Regions from separate parts of the Homo sapiens genome. Here region 2 is linked to region 1. Evidence: promoter capture Hi-C in 16 types of primary human blood cells and fetal thymus (Javierre and others, 2016). All regions are on one chromosome and are shown on one strand. The core of a region is centred on a gene start or on the middle of the fragment in contact, and the rest is flanking DNA. Distances in the headings are between cores, read along the strand shown.

Region 1 (6,227 bases), core at 2,679-5,178:
AAACATCATATTAATGATCCAGTCATATGTAATACAAAAGTAAGTTGATTAGTTAGAAAAAACCCTGAGCCTGATTACTTCCTCTTACCATTTCCCAAAGTGGTTTCTATCATCTTCAGGTTGCCTGTTTTCTACTAAGTAAGCATTAATCGACAACAAATAATTACCCTTTTCTCCTGGCCCAGATTAAATCCTATCTTGTCGCTCGTTATGTATTCATTTATTTTCACCAGTAAATCATTAACTCCTGGAAAGCAGGCATCTTGATCTTTTTATCTTCCGCATCCAATGGCTGTTAGCTGGTACTGAATATTTGTTGGTAGATTTTTTTTAAAAATTTATTTTTATTTTTATTTTTTTGAGACAGCGTCTCACTCCGTGGCCCAGGCTGGAGTGCAGTGGCTCCATCTCGGCTCACTGCAACCTCCACCTCCTGGGTTCAAGCAATTCTCCTGCCTCAGCCTCCTGAGTAGCTGGGACTACAGGTGAGCACCACCACGCCCGGCTAGTTTTTTTTTTTTTGGTTTTTCATTTTTGCATTTTTAGTAGAGACAAAGTTTCACCAGGTTGACCAGGCTGGTCTCGAATTCCAGAACTCAGGCAATCCACCTGCCTTGGCCTCCCAAAGTGCTGGGATTACAGGCGGGAGCCACTGCGCCTGGCCACCTTCGTTGAATAGGTAAATTTATCCTGGAAATTGATGTTACACCTTTATTCATTCCCAAAATGCCACTAGACCGTACATAATTTTATTTAAATACACATATATGATCATTTGTTATATTACTAAATGCTTTATATACTTTAAATAATTTGAAAGGCAAAAGGATCAATATGTAGGGATATTGGATTTCATTTTATCTCCCAAGTTTCTTTCTTTCTTTTTTTTTTTATACAGAGTCTCGCTCTGTCGCCCAGGCTGCAGTGCAGTGGTGTGGTATCGGCTCACTGCAACCTCCACCTCTCGGGTTCAAGTGATTCTCCTGCCTCAGCCTCCCAAGTAGCTGGGACTACAGGGGCCTGCCACCACAATCGGCTAATTTTTGTATTTTCAGTAGAGACAGGGTTTCACCATATTGGCCAGGCTGGTCTCAAACTCCTGACCTTGTGATCCGCCTGCCTTGGCCTCCCAAAGTGCTGGGGTTACAGGCGTGAGCCACTGCGCCCCACCTATCTCCCAAGTTTCTAGTGTTTGTGTTGTTGTAGGCATACCAAATAATGAGTAATAACGAATGAGGCCATTTTACTATTTTTTTTTTTTTGAGATGGAGTCTCGCTCTGTTGCCCAGGCTGGAGTGCAGTGGCACAATCTTGGCTCATGCAACCTCCACCTCCAGGGTTCAAGTGATTCTCCTGCCTTGGCCTCCCAAGGAGCTGGGATTATGGGCACGTGCCACCATGCCCAGCTAATTTTTGTATTTTTAGTTTCACCATGTTGGCCAAGCTGGTCTCGAACTCCTGACTTTGTGATTCGCCCGCCTCGGCTTCCCAAAGTGTTGGATTACAGGCGTGAGCCATCATGCCGGCCCATTTTACTATTTTCTTTGAGAAATGATAACGTAAAGTTATGAATGTCAGCAAGCTTTTTTTCTGATTTTTTAGGTCAACTTTATTTTGTTTGCATCTCTAAATAGTTCTCTGTCTACATCTCGTAAAAGAAGTATGTGCTCATATGTTTCACTCTTTAATTTTGACTTAATTATTAGATACACAAACAAGTCTCTTGATCCTGCCCATAAAACAGTTCCTATAGCTTCTCAGTACTTGTTTTTATATCAACCCTGCCCAGCTCTTATTTTTTTGTTGAGTAAGCTCAGACACATAGAATGGTCTAAGCGTTCTGGAGGATGAGCTCTCTGAAATTAATTTTAAAATAAACTTCTTTAGAATTTGTGATTTTTTGGGTCCATGTCTATACTTCCCAAATCTTCTTTCTTTATAGTGATCAATTTAGATAAATAGAAAAACCTCTCCTGTAGTAGAACAGTTCATGTTGAAAAATAAAAAAACAAAACAAAACCATCTTTGTGGAGGCAGAAGTAATGAGGGGGAAATGCTTTTTGTGTGTATATCCTGTGGTTTTCTCATTCTTTTTTTTTTTTTTTCTTTTTTTGAGACGGAGTCTCCCTCTGTCGCCCAGGCTGGAGTGCAGTGGCCTGATCTTGGCTCACTGCAACTTTTGCCTCCCGGGTTCAAGCGATTCTCCTGTCTCAGCCTCCCGAGTAGCTGGGATTACAGGCGCCCACCACAGCGCCCGGCTAATTTTTTTTTTTTTTGAGACGGAGTCTCGCCCTGTCACCCAGGCTGGAGCGCAGTGGCACGATCTAGGCTCACTGCAACCTCTGCCTCCCGGGTTCAAGCGATTCTCCTGTCTCAGCCTCCCGAGTAGCTGGGATTACAGGCGTTCGCCACCACGTCCAGCTAATTTTTTGTAACTTTAGTAGAGACGGGGGGGGGGGTTTCACCACTTTGGTCAGGCTGGTCTCGAACTCCTGACCTCGTGATCCGCCCGCCTCGGCCTCCCAAAGCGCCTGGATTACAGGCGTGAGCCACCACGCCAGGCCTAAGTTTTGTATTTTTAGTAGAGACGGGGTTTCGCCATGTTGGCCAAGCTGGTCTCGAACTCCTGACCTCAGGTGATCCACCCGCCCCAGCCACCCAAAGTGCTGGGATTACAGGCGCGACCCACCATGCCCGGCCGATTTCCTCATTCATTAATTCACATATCTCGTCTATTAAATGTGTAATACATTGACAATAATCTATTTCACTGCTGCCTTCTAAATTTTCCTTCTGGGCTGGGCGCGGTGGCTCACGCCTGTAATCCCAGCACTTTGGGAGGCCGAGGAGGGCGGATCACGAGGTCAGGAGATCGAGACCACGGCGAAACCCCGTCTCTACTAAAAATACAAAACATTAGCTGGGCGCAGTGGCGGGCGCCTGTAGTCCCAGCTACTCGGGAGGCTGAGGCAGGAGAATGGCGTGAATCCAGAAGGCGGAGCTTGCAGTGAGCCGAGATCGTGCCACTGCACTCCAGCCTGGGCGACAAAGCGAGACTCCGTTTCAAAAAAAAAAAAAATTTTTTTCCTTCTGAGCTCACCTTTATTTCGTACCAAGGGCTTGAGAATTAGATTCGGTTCAAATGGTTTTCAAATTCTAGGTAAAGTACTTCGTCTGCGAACATTAAAATTGTTAAGCAACAATAAAAGGGCCTCTCAGATTGATTTTTTTCACTAACACTAATTTTTCTTAATTTGTTTGTGACGTGCGCTGTATGTAAAAAGTGACGACACTCCTTTCCGTGTGTTTTCAAACACCAAGCAAGTCTGCTGTGCTCCAGGGCGTTTCGCCCTTTGCCAGGTCGCTGTCCCCATTCGCCCCCTCTGAGAGCCTCCATTTCTCAAGGCAATCCCTGTGACACAAACTTTTTACTTTACCAAGATATAAAAGAACCTTGCTTGTTTATTTTAGGCGTCACTCTTCCCCATGATTGTCTCTCACGGTTGAGCGGCGCTGACCTGATGACACCTGCTCACTGCGTTTTCGTTAAACTCAGCATTTTCACGTAGCCAAGACAGGCGATTCCCAGGCTGGATGGGACCTTACTGTAACTGCACGACTCCGCACAAGTCGCTTTGAAAACCAATCTGCAGACGTTTGCTTGTTCTCCAGACAGAAACTCTGACCCCACACTCACCCTTCCCACCCTAATTCTCGCTCGAAGATTGAAGAGCCTGTGAACTGTCTCCCTAACGCTATCCAGGACAGGCCCAAGACGGGAACTGGACCTTGCGCGCCTAGGACTCCGGCGCCGCCACGTCTGTCGGCGTGCGTGACGCCAGCGCGCTTGCGCGCACGGAGACCCGCCCCCTACATCCGGGGCCTGGGCGGCAGCAGGGCCGCCGCGGGGAGGTCACGTGGCTCCTTCCTTTCCGTCTCTGGCCGGCTGGGCGCGGGCGACTGCTGGCGAGGCGCGTGGGACCTTACGCTGGTTCCCCTTCGTCTCCTCTCCCGGCCCGGGCCACTAGAGAGTTCGCTGACGCCGGGTGAGCTGAGCCTGCCGCCAAGATGCCGGCCTATTTTCAGAGGCCGGAAAATGCCCTCAAACGCGCCAACGGTGAGTAGCTGATCGGGGCGCGCCGGGCTGGGGCGGCCCGAGGCCTCCGAGGTCGAGAGCGCGGGCCTGCTTCCCACTGCTCCGCCGCCCGGCCCGCGCGGGGAGAGGAGACCGATGCGGCCTGCCCGCCGCTGTCCCAGCCGGTGGTTGGGCATGGGTTTCCTTCTCACTCTATCGACTGGGGTCTGGGAGGCGCGTAGCCCGGAACCGTCGCCCCAGGGGCCTTTCCTTCCCCCTGCCGCCTCCGGGTGCGTCGCGGGGACCGCAGCCCGGGAGACAGCCCCTACCCGGACTGGAGCTCCCTCCTTGCTGCCTGCGTCCTCTGGCTCTCCAGGTCCCTGGGGCTTTGGTCTGCTTAGGGCCCGCGTCCCCGGCCGCCATCTGGGAGTGCCGGGGAGTAAGAAACATGGCTCCCTCCCGGGGACAATGCACGCGAGAGCCTCGGCTCCACCTCCTGCCCGGGCCGGGAGCCCTACGGACCCACCCCCGGCCTTCCCGCAGCCACCCCCGCTCTCCAAGCCGCGCTCAGTGCTTTGCTGGGTCGGCGTCCACTTACCCTTTACCCAGCTGCTTTATATCCACTTAGGGGCCTCTGACCCATTTAACCTGATTCCTGTTGTTTTGTTTTGTTTTTGTTTTTTCATTTTTCCTGGCATTGATTAGAAGCAGTCCTAAAGCCTGTTTCGAATCACTGGAAGTTGGAATAGAGTTAATGTAAAGGGACTTCAGGTCGCCTCTTAAAGATAACGAAACAGGCCTAGAGAGAGGTTTCCCCAAGGTCACTCCGGGAGTTGTTGAGCCAAGAGACTTAAAACCAACGTCTCTTGACATCCAGATCAGTCCTTTTTTCTCTTTTTTTCTGCCACAGTGCTGCTGTCTGCGATTTCTATTTCTATATGTGTACTTCAGCCATTGGCGCTTGAGGGAAAAACTTGTGTGCCCCGATCTCTCCAAGGCATTTATTACATTGGCGTTCTGGGGATGCACATGTTCTTGGCTAGGCTCTGGGCTTAAGAAACTTTGTGTAGGGTTTTTTTTTTCCCCTCTAACCGGACAATTTTTCTAATCGTTAGGGCATGGATAGCTCTTATTTTCATCCTTCCTTCACCGAAATAGAAGTTTCGGGTTTTACCCATGTTGTAGATGAATATACCTTGTGAGTTACAGTTTTATGTTTGGAGAGCTTATTTTGTTAGCTTCTTTGAAAATTCATCTTATGAAAATGGCAGTTTGAGTCAGCACATAAACTGATAATTTGGCAGAACCAGAGATATGTTGGTCATATACTTTTTAAAGTAAAAGTAACACTTTTTGTCGGGGAGGGAACTGGTCTGTGGAATAGGATAATTCCACATTGTGTGGAATGGAGTAATTGTTTTAAAAACCTATTGAAACTACAACATAGATGTGAGCACTAATTCATTCTAATGATAACCAGTGATCTAATGGTTAGAACAGACAAGCAGTTTTAGGATGTTTATTAATACATCGGAAAGAAGAGATTGAAATGGAACTTTGTCACTATAAACCAAACTGTAGCAAAGTTTATGACTTTTCGTCGTTTCGAAAGTTAGAATTTGTAGTATACAAAATGATTTGCATGAAATTACTACTCTGCATGGCTGTTGTCGATGTTTTACAGTCATTTGCATGCTTTGCCCAACAGGTATTTTTTTTTCCCCGTGCTAGTAGGCCAAAGCATTATAATGGCCTACATATTATATATTTGGTGTGTTCGGGTCTTGTTTCCTTTATCGCTTCTCTTTTTGGAACCTTCATAAGAACTTCATATAGAAAAGATATGTAATGTGCATCAAACATTTTTTTCCTGTTTCTAAATTGACACAGGCTTGATTCATGAAGGGCAGGTTAAGGAAAGGATCTGAAATTAAAGTAGGCAAGATGAGGGACACTGGGGGGGAAACTTGAGTTTTGTTTGTGTAGCTTTTTAAAAAAGACTGTGGTCCCTTGCAGCCCTTTGAAGCTGTTGGATGGGGATGCATGCGTTCCCTTCAGAGTAGAAACTCATACCTTTGGATTGTGAGGGATCCCTTCTCAAAGTGAGCAGATCGTGGATGGTCCAGGGCACTGCTTCCAAAACATAAGTGAA
Region 2 (6,227 bases), core at 2,436-4,935, 130 kb before region 1:
CTAGACATGTGGTTTGCATGCTTCAGGAACATAATTCCTAACTTTAATTAATTTAAGTATAAATAACAACATACAGCTAGTGGCTACTACGTTGAACAGAGCCCCTGAAGAGGAACAGGTACCTTTAATCTTTTCGGTCATTCCCTGTGACAGGCTATGTCAAAGGACATACCCAGGCCAATCCCAACAGAAAGCCAGAAAAGAATGCAGCCTCCACCGTCTTCACTCCAGAACTGCAGCCCGTCTACCCGCCCAGGCCTCTGCCCTGAACACCTGCTCTGCCTGGAAGGCGCCATGGCACACCAGTTTTCCTCTTGGATCTTGTCATTCCTCAACCAAAGGGTCTTCTTGCCATTGTTTTTAATGGTTTCCATTTCTAGGAACAGACCTTCATAAAAACAGTGTTGGCCGGGCGTGGTGGCTCACACCTGTAGTCCCAACATTTTGGGAGGCCAAGGTGGATGGATTGCTTGAGCCCAGGAGTTTAGAGACCAACCTGGGCAACAGGGCGAAACCCCATCTCTACAAAAAATACAAAAATTAGCCAGGCATGTTGGCACGAGCCTATAGTCCCAGCTACTCAGGAGGCTGAGGTGGGAGGATCACTTGAGCCCAGGAGGTCGAAGTTGCAGTGAGCTGAGATGGCACCACTGCACTACAGACTGGGTGACAGCAAGACCCTGTCTCAAAAAACAAAACAAAACAAAAACCCCTCAGTGCCCCAGAAAATTAGCAGTTGTCTTCCAGATTCAGGTCTATCCCTCAAGTATAACCTTTTAATTATGCTTAAATCACATACTGGTCCCTCAGGCCATTGTCCAAATTCTAGGCACAGTAGAGTCAATGCAGTCTACACAGCTAAGGAGGTCACACCCCAGTCAGCCTCAGCTCTTCGGGGAAAAAAATCCAGTTCTGTTCACACCTAGTTGATCAGTTAAAAAACATCAAAAGAGACTGAGTGCAGTGGCTCATGCCTGTAATCCCAGCACTTTGAGAGGCCAAGGCAGGCAGATCACCTGAGGCCAGGAGTTTGAGACCAGCCTGGCCAACATGGCGAAACCCCGCCTCTACTAAAAATACAAAAATTAGCCAGGCTTGATGGTGGGCGCCTGTAATCCCAGCTACTCAGGAGGCTGAGGCAGGAGAATCGCTTGAACCTGGGAGGCAGAGGTTGCAGTGAGCCCAGACTGCGCCACTGCAGTCTAGCCTGCGCGACAGAGCAGACTCTGTCTCAAAACAAAACAAAAAACAAACAAAAAAACATGTAAAAAGAGAACGGCAGTGCCCAATTGCATCTTTTCAGTCATTTCACATTGTATTATCTGAGGCTGACACCCGAATGTCACCTCCGCACTGGGTCCTTCAACAACCAAATGCTGAACAAATAAATTTTACTCTTGTAAGATTTTCAGAAGCCTATTCAAGAATGGTTTCCTCAAAATGAGAAGCAGGGGTGGGGGAAGGGTCCAGTCAGGAAGTAAGGACTTTCTCTTTTAAAAGCAGCACAGTTTTCACAAAATGAAATGCTTCTTCCAGTTTTTGGATGGTAATAAAAGGAATGACATTATCTCTGCCCCCCCAAAATACATCTTTTCAATATTTAGAATATTTTTAAATAAAAATTTTCACTGAAATATAACAGGATATGTTTTAAAGTGGAAATCAACCCTATTATTTAAGGCCATAATACATTTTAATTTTTTATTTTTCTTTTTTGAAACAGAGTCTTACTCTGTCACCCAGTCCGGAGTACGGTGGTGCAATACTGGCTCACTGCAATCTCCACCTCCCAGGTTCAAGTGATTCTCCTGCCTCAGCTTTCCGAGTAGCTGGGATTACATGCGGGCACCACCACACCCCGCTGATTTTTGTATTTTTAGTAGAGACAGGATTTCACCATGTTGGCCAGGCTGATCTCAATCTCCTGACCTCAGGTGATCCGCCTGCCTCGGCCTCCCAAAGTGCTGGGATTACAGACATGAGCCACCATGCCCAGACCATTTTAGTCATTTAAAATCATGCCTTCATCCCCTTGTCTTCAATATTCTCTTCTATTCCATTCATTTATTTATTTATTTTTAGAGACAGGGTCTTGTGTGTTGCCCAGGCTGGAGGGCAGTGGCTATGCACAGATGCAGTCCCACTGCTGATCAGCATGGAGTTTTTACCTGTTCTGTTTCCCACCAAGCCAGTTCACCCCTCCTTGGGCAACTTGGTGGTCCCCACTCCCGAAAGGTCACCATATTGATGCCGAGCTTACTGCAGATACCCAATAGGCATAGTTCGCTCCAGACCAGTACTCCTGGGCTCAAATGATCTTCCTCAGCCTCCAGAGTAGCTGGGACCACAGGCTGTGCCACCGCACTCGGCTCCACCATTCTATTTTGATGTGAGAAATGGGTGCTGAGGGCTGTATGATTGAGGAAATTCCTAATTATCTTCTCAATGTGTCACCTGTTGGTAGTCACTTTCTGTTTTCTCAAGTTTCACCTCTGAGTTGCATGACCTATGACAATAATGCCTTTTGGTAACCAGAAGACTTTTTTATTTCAAAAATGTCTAGACATTATAATGCTTTATCTTGCACTCCAAACATATTGGCAACAAATATTAACTTTGAATATTGCCCACAGTCCTGGATAGTTTTATTTAAAACATCCCAGATATGGATTGAATAGCCCTTGGTAAAGGTGAATTTGGTTAAACATTGAGCCCGCTCCTGAAATTCACTTGGGCATTCTGGAAGTCTTCAGCCCAGATCCAAAGGGTATCATTTAGCAAGCCACTATAAGAGTTATAGCTTCTGAAGACATAATTTAAACAAGGATTAGTTTGGGCACTGGAAGAGTCAAGCACTTTGGAGTTTAGAATCTGACAAGCAGCAGCTAAGCTACTGAAAGATGAGAGCCTTGTGGGCATTTATCTGATGGTTTTTCAAACAGGCAGCCAGATTAACTACAATCATCGTTTGAAATCTTTAAGAAAGCAAAAGGCCTTCTGAAAACATTGCTTTTGGTTTCTCTACCTCCAAGTTGTCAGTACTGAAAAGGAAACTTTAAAAAAAAAAAAAGAAAGGCAGTTTGATTTAACGGCATTGTGTTTAACAGGCCAGGCTGCTTTTACACACACCGAGCTGCCTTAACCAGGATGAAAGCTGTCGCTTGGTAAGATTAACATTAAAATTGAAGGAGAAGCTTCAGGGTGGAGTACGTATGCCTCCACGTATGCCTTCACATAGCCATAAGAGGGCTTTGAGCTTCAGAGATGTTCCAACGTTCTAATAACCTAATTCACCATGTTTTGGTTTTATCACCATGAATTAGGGGTGCAAGGGAAAGAGGTCCAGGGCTTTCAGCCGTGCTGTGGAATGTTAAGTCTGTCCACGCCATAGCCTGCCCCACGCAGAGCTGGATGCTGGCTCACTCCTTCTTCCTGCCCTCCCTAACCTCTTCCAGGCCCCGAGGTGCTAATCTTGATGATCAGGAAGATCCAGCCAAGTCACAGAGTTACCTGAAAAAACGGTTCCTGTGTATTCTAATGTTTGGCAATTGTGACAAATGACAAAGTTGTTCCAGTCCTAACTTCTCAATTCCTGTGCTTGCTAGGGCCTCAGGAAAATGTGATCAATATTCCTTCAGGTATCTTTTTTGATCAGATATGGCTACTGCTGGCCTGTGAAGAAAGGAAAAGCGGGGCCTTGCAAAATTTTTTCTCACCACTGTTCACTCAGAAGAAAGGCAACAGATCTAGAAGATGAGAAAAACACAAAAACCTTTACTGCAACAATAAAACCAAAAAGAAACACACAAAAGGCACTCAGCAAACTCTCCTTCTCATTATTATTTCAACATTAGGTCGCCTGCCAATTTTCTGAGATTCTGAAATGTAAATAAATAGATAGAGTTAGTCTGGGCCTCTTTTTCATGAAATGCTTAATCACTTAGCTCATTCCCATAAATTGCCATGAATTCAGTCTCAACTTCTTTCTTTTTTTCCTTAAGCACTTTTTAGGAGAGCAATCTAAAGTTCCTAAGAGTGATCGAGTTGATGTTTTCTCATGAGACCCAGGACAAATAAACAGGCCCCAAAATACATTTCCGTGGTTCAAAATCTTGAACCCATACCTCTACCTTTTCTTATTTTAAAATAATTATCACAAGTGTTCATGAAGCTTGCTTGCTATATTTTCTAATTACTAACAATCCATCATTTTACTCTAATCCACTTACAGGCTTTCTATTTTATTGCTACATTAATGCTTTCCACTTTATATTATGTCTTATTACGGTAAGACTTTGAAGATACAGTGAATTTAGGAGCCATCTGTCTTTAATGCAAAACAAAAAGAAAAGATAGGTCCCAGTGTTACCCACCAACATGGACAACTACAAATTATTTTACAGCATTTTCAAAGTGTGCCTGTCTTTCTTCAAGGTCTGTTTCTCTATTGTTTGGGACAAATGTGACTTTTACTTGAAAGCCAAATTTTAAATTGCTTACGGTGTATTTTGTTAAGTGAACTAAATTAAATTTCACATTTGCCAATTATATTTCTCATCTGTAACCACTGACAAGAATCTTTAAGAAGTGTTTTTAAACCTTTTAAACAACTCAGATTTTTTTAATATACTGTTTTATATTAGATATTTCACTAAACTGACTGAAGATTTCATTTCTGAATATTTAGATAATATGGTTATTTGGAGAACTACTAAGTTTAGTAAAATAAATTCAAATATATGAGAACTGAGAAGAGAAACATAAATTGCTTTAATTTCTAAAAGTGTCCACACTAATTAGGATATATGGGCTCAAGTCTCTAATAAAGGCCCAGCCAAAAGAAACTGGAAGCACTTAAAATCATGGCTTTCCTCTAGGCATAAGAGAGAAAGAAGGGGAGAGATGCAAATTGTAAATGAGGTTTCCATTAAATGATTAATTTTTCTTGTTCACGTGTCAGTCTCTCCCTGCTTCCGCAGGCCCTCTCCATTTCCAAGGCATCATCAAGAGCTATTTTCTCACCATGAGATGACGACCAAACTCTCACAGCAAAATTGAAAAAGCCTTTAAAAGGAAAAAAAAAAGTGAAAGGCACATTCTTGAGCACTTTCAATCACTGTAATTCTGCCCCAATGGGAGTCGGTCACTCCACACAAGCTTCCAGCCTGCAGCTCTCTTCTCCAAGGCTCTGGGAAAAAAACCCAATTTGTTGGCCTAACGAACAACAATATCAGACAGTAAATTCACGTTGGTGAAAAAATACTGGGGAGAACAATTTGGAGGGGGCGGGTGGAATTGATATCACTTTGCCCACTCTAAGCAAAGCATTATAAAAGAAGCAACCAAATGCTCAGGGAAGAAAAAAAGCATCTATCAGGCAAACAAATATCTACAGCAGCAAATGTCGGGGGCAGATTCCCTGGGCAACAGGAGGAACCAGCGAAACTTGCAAGGCTCCAGTACCATCAGACCCAGTGATTTCCCAAGAAATAATTTCAGAATGGAGCGAGAGTGAAAACTTTCCCAGCCCCCGAATCCTGAGATACACAACCGTGTCCCACCACTAGGTGGCCAGCTGCAAAGGCTGAAAGAGGGGCGGGGGAGGTGGAGGGCTGTTTTCTCTGCTTCCTCCCTTTCAGGACCATTCCCCAACCCAGAGGAGAGCCTACCAGCACCCACCTAGATCCTGTCCACTAAAAATGTCAGGTTAGGAAAAAAAAAAAAAAAAAAAAAAAAAAACCACACACACACACACAGCTCAGGCCTTAGAACCTGAAGTCACCAAGTAACAAGCCTCTCCTAAAAATTTATTCCCACCAAAGCTAAGCAATGGGAGGGAGACTAACCTGAATATTTTAAACTCTGCTGGGGTTTTCAAAGCACTGCCTCCCTTCGGGGCTTCTGAAATAAACCTTCTTGCCCACTGGCTGCTTTAGAGTGACAAGTGACGACGAAAGTAAGACACGAATGCCGGGTTGAGTTGCTGAAACGCTGCCCACGGAAGGCTATGCATCACCTACCCCCACAGTGTGTAGGGAGCCACAAGGTGATGGAACGGGCTGAATAAACACGAATCGTTTTATTGCTGGCCAGAAATTCTTCCCTTCATTCATCAAAGTAGGTGAATGAAAATATTAAGCAGGTAAGACATTTTCATGGGCTGCTCACCGAGTATCCTTCTAAACTCAAGCCCTTACTCAGTCTGCCTTCTACCTTGTATCAAATAA

Evidence for each region. The method cuts DNA at HindIII sites, captures the fragments that hold promoters and counts their contacts. A CHiCAGO score of 5 or more calls a contact.
Region 2: a contact is called between a fragment that was not itself captured here and the fragment with the promoter of EIF3A in region 1, in 1 of 17 cell types (neutrophils). The highest score is 6.0, in neutrophils.

The regions. Positions count from the first base shown.
Region 1 is chr10:119,078,518-119,084,744 of GRCh38, reverse strand. It overlaps EIF3A (eukaryotic translation initiation factor 3 subunit A), which reads left to right and starts at 3,928. Exons shown (of 22, transcript NM_003750.4): 1 at 3,928-4,117. The coding sequence starts at 4,069. RefSeq lists enhancers at 3,714-4,008, 3,436-4,198 and a silencer at 4,204-4,463. The HindIII fragment of the contact is 5,277 bases long and covers 1,585-6,227 here.
Region 2 is chr10:119,209,000-119,215,226 of GRCh38, reverse strand. The region is part of intron 1 of GRK5 (G protein-coupled receptor kinase 5); the gene reads right to left. It overlaps GRK5-IT1 (GRK5 intronic transcript 1), which reads right to left. Exons shown (of 2, transcript NR_186528.1): 2 at 2,523-3,746. It also overlaps the pseudogene RN7SL749P. Among named protein-coding and RNA genes, the nearest start is that of GRK5-IT1, 3.7 kb to the right of the region's middle. The HindIII fragment of the contact is 977 bases long and covers 3,197-4,173 here.